2 separate regions of the Homo sapiens genome follow, and region 1 is linked to region 2. Evidence: promoter capture Hi-C in human tissues and cell types (Jung and others, 2019). All regions are on one chromosome and are shown on one strand. The core of a region is centred on a gene start or on the middle of the fragment in contact, and the rest is flanking DNA. Distances in the headings are between cores, read along the strand shown. Region 1 overlaps ALOXE3 (arachidonate epidermal lipoxygenase 3). Region 2 holds the start of ODF4 (outer dense fiber of sperm tails 4).

Region 1 (3,035 bases), core at 452-2,951, 230 kb before region 2:
GTGTTCCAGGACTCGGTGGGGTGAGTCACTAGGGAAGGAGGTGGCCCCAGAGTGGAGGTAATCCTAGAAAAGGGCCTTGGGTTGCCATGCCACACAGAGCAAGCTGCTACTCCACCTGGCTGGGTTCTAACCATGAGAGGAGCCCCTAAGTTCTTCTCCCAAATTAACATCAACTTGAATCACCATTACAACCTTGGACCCAGCTCCACCCAGTCATCACCCAATGCCAACCCTTCACCCCACTCAGCTGCCACTCCAACCCCAAGTCTAATCATAAACCCACCCCAACGCTGACCCACCCAAGCTCTCAACCCAAATTCAGGCCTCAAGTCCATTGCTGAGACCTGATGTCCCCAGGCCTGCCCTTTGTAGCCTCACCTGCCCACTGTTGACAGCAGCGTGCTGGGCAGAGCAATTGAAGATGATTGCAGTGAGGAACTTCACCATCTCTCCTGGGGTGCACAGCCGGCTTGGGAAACCTGGGTGTGGGGAGGAAGGGTAGAGGGTGTGGATGGAAGGTACTGGATTCCTAGGGCCAGCTCAGGACTGGGGCTCACCACAGGGGGAAAGTGAGGAAGTAGGGAACACCGAGCCATGACTGTCTTGTCGGGCTGGTTAGGGATGGCCACCACCAAGATTTGTGGTCTCTGAAGTGGGTCAGGATAGGAGATGGGGGCTGGGATCTGGCCAGAAAATCCCCGGCAGGCAGGGCCAATGACAGAGGCAGCTTCAAGCCCAAGTGCCCAGCTGCCTCTCCCTGACTTCCAAGGCACTTCAATCTGCAGCCCCTATTAGGATGTAATGATTTAATCCTACCCGGTTCACCAAGATTTGTTCAAGCACCCAGTATCCAACCATCCTCTGCTGGGCTTAGCAGCAGAGACCCACGCAGAGGGCGTGTTACTGAAAAGCTCACAGTAACAGAAGCAGAAGGAAGCTTCTAAGACCAGAGCTTGGCTCTTTGAGGAGAGGGCAAGCAGGGCAGAAAGGGGCACCAGGAGCAGAGTGGTTAGTGGAGGCCTCCTGGAGGACAAGAGGGGCCTTGTGAGTTGAAAGATGGATGAGCCTCCAATGGAAAAAAGACAACAGAGAAAAGCATTTCAGGATTGGAGAGGGGAGAGCTCCAAGGCTCAGCCCTTGGTCCATTCATGCTGTGCCTCACTCATCTCATCCAAGTCCATGGCTCTAACCACCTCCCACTTGCCAACAACTCCCAAATTCCCTTCTCTGGCTGTGCCTGGCGTCTGAGCTCCAGACTCAGCCGTGGGCATTACCCTGGAGGCAGCTTACCTGACGTCCCCACCTAAGCATCTACACCACCTCACACTGCACACTGGCAAGGACAAATGCCCGTCAGATTACGTCACCCCTCGCTAAAACCCTCGGAGGGCTTCCCATCTCACTCACCTTGTCATGGCCCTACTTGATTGGGCCCCAGCCCCTTCTCCCACTTCATTTCCTTCCTGGCTGTTCACTTATTCGACTCCAGCTGTGCAGGCCTTCCTGATAGTTCTCAAATGCACCAGCACATTCAGAATTCAGGGCCTGCACACTTACTATACCTCTGCCTGCTACTCTTGCCCCAATTATCTTCAGAACTAGCACCTCTCCTTCCTTCAGCTACTAATGCATCAGCTCCTGAGAGGCCTGCCCTGGCCACCTCCCTGAAATGATCTCTTTACCTTGACACACTGTATCCCCTGATGCTGTTTCAGTTTTCCTCTTAGCATTCATAACCACCTGACATGTGTTTGTTGATTCTCTCTTTCTCTCTCCAAAAGAATGTTAAGCTCAACTAAGGCCAGAATTTTTGTCTTTTTCACTACTAAACCTCAGCACCTAGAACAATACTTAATAAATACCAAGAGCCCGGTAATTATTGGTTGAATGAAGGAATGCATGAGAGGGTAAGAAGCCAGAGCATGGGAGGCAGAGGTGGGAGGATTGCTCAAGCCCAGGAGTTTGAGACCAGCCTGGGCAACATAGCAAGACCTTGTCTCTAAAAAACATTTTTTAAAAAGGTAACTGGATGCAGTGATGTGGTGGTGCATGCCTGTAGTCCCAGCTACCAGGGAGGCTGAGGCATGAGGATCACTTGAGCCTGGGAGGTCAAGGCTGCAGTGAGCTGTGATCACACCACTGCACTCCAGTCTGAGCATCAAAGTGAGACCCCGCCTCAAAAAAAAAAAAAAAAAAAAAAAGCCAGAGTAGGAAGGCACGGGGTATTAACAGGGTGAGGGAACAGGGAGGGGACCTAATTGGAGGTGAGGCTGCAGAGGCATGCAGGGCCATGTGGTTTCTGGGCAGTATTTCAGAGGATTAGCAGGGTGGTGGCCCTGCAGGCTTGGCGGGCAAGCAGCGAGAGGCTGGGAGAGGTGGGACTGGTTGAGAAGCAGCTGCCACAATTCCAGAGCACTATGAGGAAGACTACAACTAGGGTGGTGACAGTAGGGATCAGCCACCTAACTGGATTTAGGAAGACAGAGAGGGAAACATGAGTCAAAGAGAACTAAGGTTTGGAGTCAGGCTGACTGGACGGAGGCTGATGCAACAGAACAGAGAGGTTGGGAGGCAAGACCAGACATCCGCCTGGGAGTGTGTGGGAGTTTTCTGAAGGTTCTGTTCCTGGTTGAGTCTCTAAACTCGGAGGCTGAGAACAAAAAAGTAAAGCAGGCAGACACACCTGTAGTGTCAGCTACTTGGAAGGCTGAGACAGGAGAATCAATAGAGCCCAGGAGTTTGAGACCAGCCTAAGCAACAGAGCAAGACCCTGTCTCAAAAAAACAAAACATGAGCAAAAACAAAAAATAAAAACAAAGAAGTGGACAGACCATCTATAGGAACTTTTCCGTAGTTCATATTGCCTATTTTTCCCCCATTGGAATATGGAACCTGACCGAAATGGTGAAAGAAACCCCATCTCTACTAAAAATACAAAAATTATCCGGGCGTGGTAGTGTGCGACTGTAGTCCCAGCTACTCGGGAGGCTGAGACAGGAGAATCGCTTGAACCGGGAGGTGGAGGTTAACTTGTG
Region 2 (3,264 bases), core at 645-3,144:
AGCAATGGGAAGCTCGATGACATCTTTGCAAGACATGTCCAAAGAACAATGGAGGGAGGATCTTTTCCTGGGGATAAGCTCCTGCTCCCTCCCCCTGCTCCATCAGTGAGCATTTGGGGTTGGGGTTAGGGCAGAGGAACTAGGAAGAGAAAAGGGGACTGTCCTAGTCCATTTTGTGTTGCTATAACAGAATACCTGAGGGTGAATAATTTATAAAGAAAAAAGGGCTATTTGGCTCACAATTCTGATGGCCAGAAAGCTCAAGATTGGGCATCTGTTGAGGACGTCAGGCTGCTTTCACTTATGGTGGAGGCAAGGGGGAGCTGGCTTGTGCAGAGATCACAAGGTAAGGGAGGAGCTGAAACTGTGCCCCAAACAGTTAAATAAACCAGTGATTAACAGACATTTTCGAGTTTACAGGATGGCAGCTAAGAAACAGCTTGCTGAAATGCTGAAAAATCCCTTTGCTTATAACAGGACTGGCTGAAATCAGTGGGAACCCGTATGGCTGACAGCAATCCGCACAGAACGAGCTTGCTGATGTCACAGCCTGAATTTCCACCTGCTGTTTCATACTAACGCCACCAAATTTGCACATGCAACCCACGAAGAACCTTGGAGATAACCAGACATGATTAAGGACTTTCTAGACTTCTCCTTTCTTTCCACCAATCACCCGCTAATCCCAGAATCCTCCCCCTAAACCTTTTCTAATAAAAGTACTGCCTTAAGACCAGCAAAGAGAGACAGATTTGAGCTGGATTCCCGTATCCTCGTGGGTCAGCTCACAATAAAGCTTTCCTTTTCTCAAAACCTAGTGCCCTAGTATTGGAGTATTGGCTTCTATGCACATCTGGCAGCGAGCACTTTTGCTTGGTAACAGCGCCAGGTTCTTTTTAACAACCAGCTATTGCGGGGAGCTAATGGAGTGAGGTCTCAGGGAAGGCGTTAATCCAATCACAAGGCATCTGCCCCCATGACCCAAACACCACCCACTAGGCCCTCTCACCTCCCATCACCACCACACTGGGGAGCAAATTTCAGCATGAGGTTTGGTGAAGACAAATTAACCATATGCAGACCACAGGAGGGCCTCTCACATACCATTGCTCATATGTAAAGGGAGGCAGAAGCTGGAGGGAGGTGTCAGATCCACAGTTCTGAGCTGTGGCCTGAGAAACAGGATTTCCGGAAAGAGTTAGAGCTGGAGCCACAGGCCAGGCAAGGTGGCTCACACCTGTAATCCCAGTGCTTTGGGAGGCCAAGTGGGGAGGATCTCATGAGGCCAGGAGTTTTTTTTTTTTTTTTTTGAGGCTGAGTTTCACTCTTGTTGCCCAGGCTGGAGTGCAATGGTGCGATCTCGGCTCACCGCAACCTCCGCCTCCCAGGTTCAAGCAATTCTCCTGCCTCAGCCTCCTGAGTAGCTGGGACTACAGGCATGTGCTACCACGCCCAGCTAATTTTGTATTTTTAGTAGAGATGGGGTTTCTCCATGTTGGTCAAGATGGTCTCGAACTCCCGACCTCAGGTGATCCACCCACCTCGGCCTCCCAAAGTGCAGTGATTACAGGCGTGAGCCACCGTGCCTGGCAGAGGCCAGGAGTTTGAGACCAGGCTGGGTAACATATCAAGACCCCATCTCTACAAACAATTGAAAAATTAGCCAGGCATGCTGGCACAATCCTGTAATCCCAGCTACTCAGGAGGCTGAGGTGGGAGGATCACTTGAACCCAGGAGTTCAAGGTTGCAGTGAGCCAAGGTTGTGCCACTGCATCCCAGCCTGGGCAATAGAGGGAGACCCTGTCTCTCTCTCTAAAAAAAAAAAAAAAAAAAAAAAAAATTGCTGAAGACTTGGCTTCCCTCCCCCATCTCACTGTGCCCCAGGAAAATTCCGTGGCAGTTAGGGGACCTGGCCTGCTGAATGGGTTGGGGCCTTCTCTTGGATCAAGAGTCTCTTATTTGATCGAGGTCTGTTATTAGACTTCCTCATTCTTTCTCAGACCTCAGGCTGCATGGTGGCAGCTGATGAAAATATCCAAAAGATGAGAAGAGACAATTGAGTCTGGTGAGGGAAAGGGGAGACAGAGGGTGAAGTGGTGCTCAAGATGGATGCAGAGTACTCTGGGAATGAGTTCCCCAGGTCAGAAGGAGAAAGAGACCAACATCAGAGACCTGGAAAGGAAAGGAAGAGTGGGGAGGCAGGATGGGGCACAGGTGAGCTGGGACAAGATGGGAGACTGCTGTCCTCCACCCTCTCCCTCAGTAGTAACAGGTCCTTGGGCCAGCGCCAGAACTCTCCGCTGCCCTTTCAATGGAGAATCACACACAGCTTCCGCTGGATGGCCCAGGTGTTGGCCTCTGAGCTCAGCCTGGTTGCCTTTATCCTACTATTGGTCGTGGCCTTCTCCAAGAAATGGCTGGACCTCTCTAGGAGCCTCTTCTACCAGCGCTGGCCCGTGGATGTCAGCAACAGAATCCACACATCAGCCCACGTTATGTCCATGGGGCTCCTGCACTTTTACAAATCCAGGAGCTGTTCTGACTTAGAGAATGGGAAAGGTGAGCCCCTCCACCCCCCATCCCAGCCCAGGCCGCCAGCCTGTCTTGGCCTCTGTATCTGCACCCTGGATGTATTCTTGTTCCCTCTTTCTGGTCATCTTTACTTTTTGGCCTGCAAGATGGTTCCACTGGCACTGAGACCTCCGATGATCGTTTCTCATCCTGTAGCCTGGCTAAATAGATTTGATTGGTGCAATGGAAAATGTCACTGCTTTTGATAAAACCCAGAGCCAAATCTGTGCTTCTAAGAATGCTGTGAGAGAGTTGGGCATGGTGCTGCACACCTGTAGTCTCAGCTATCCAGGAGGCTGAGGTGGGAGGATTGCTTGGGCCCAAGAATTTGAGTCCAGCCTGGGCAATTTAGTGAGACTCCTGTCTCAAAAAAAAAAAAAAAAAAATCAGGCTGGGCACTGCGTCTCACACCTGTAATCCCAGCACTTTGGGAGGCCAAAGCAGGCAGATCACCTAAGGTTGGGAGATCGAGACCATCCTGGCTAACATAGTGAAACCCCGTCTCTACTAAAAATACAAAAAATTAGCCAGGCGTGGTGGCACATGCCCGTAATCCCAGCTACTCTGGAGACTGAGGCAGGAGAATTGCTTGAACCCGGGAGGTGGAGGTTGCGGTGAGCCGAGACCGCACCATTGCACTCCAGCCTGGGCAACAAGAGTAAAACTCTGTCTCAAAAAAAAAAAAAAGTTAC

Evidence for each region. The method cuts DNA at HindIII sites, captures the fragments that hold promoters and counts their contacts. A contact is called where the count stands out against the background at its distance.
Region 1: a contact is called between a fragment that was not itself captured here and the fragment with the promoter of ODF4 in region 2, in 1 of the 25 tissues and cell types used here (lymphoblastoid cells).

Annotation. Positions count from the first base shown.
Region 1 is chr17:8,103,737-8,106,771 of GRCh38, forward strand. ALOXE3 (arachidonate epidermal lipoxygenase 3) reads right to left here. Exons shown (of 16, transcript NM_021628.3): 14 at 379-479. Among named protein-coding and RNA genes, the nearest start is that of ALOXE3, 13 kb to the right of the region's middle. The HindIII fragment of the contact is 5,977 bases long and covers 1-3,035 here.
Region 2 is chr17:8,337,946-8,341,209 of GRCh38, forward strand. It overlaps ODF4 (outer dense fiber of sperm tails 4), which reads left to right and starts at 1,895. Exons shown (of 3, transcript NM_153007.5): 1 at 1,895-2,560. The coding sequence starts at 2,107. LOC124903916 (a long non-coding RNA gene) reads left to right here and starts at 112. Exons shown (of 2, transcript XR_007065607.1): 1 at 112-346; 2 at 478-813. The HindIII fragment of the contact is 12,554 bases long and covers 1-3,264 here.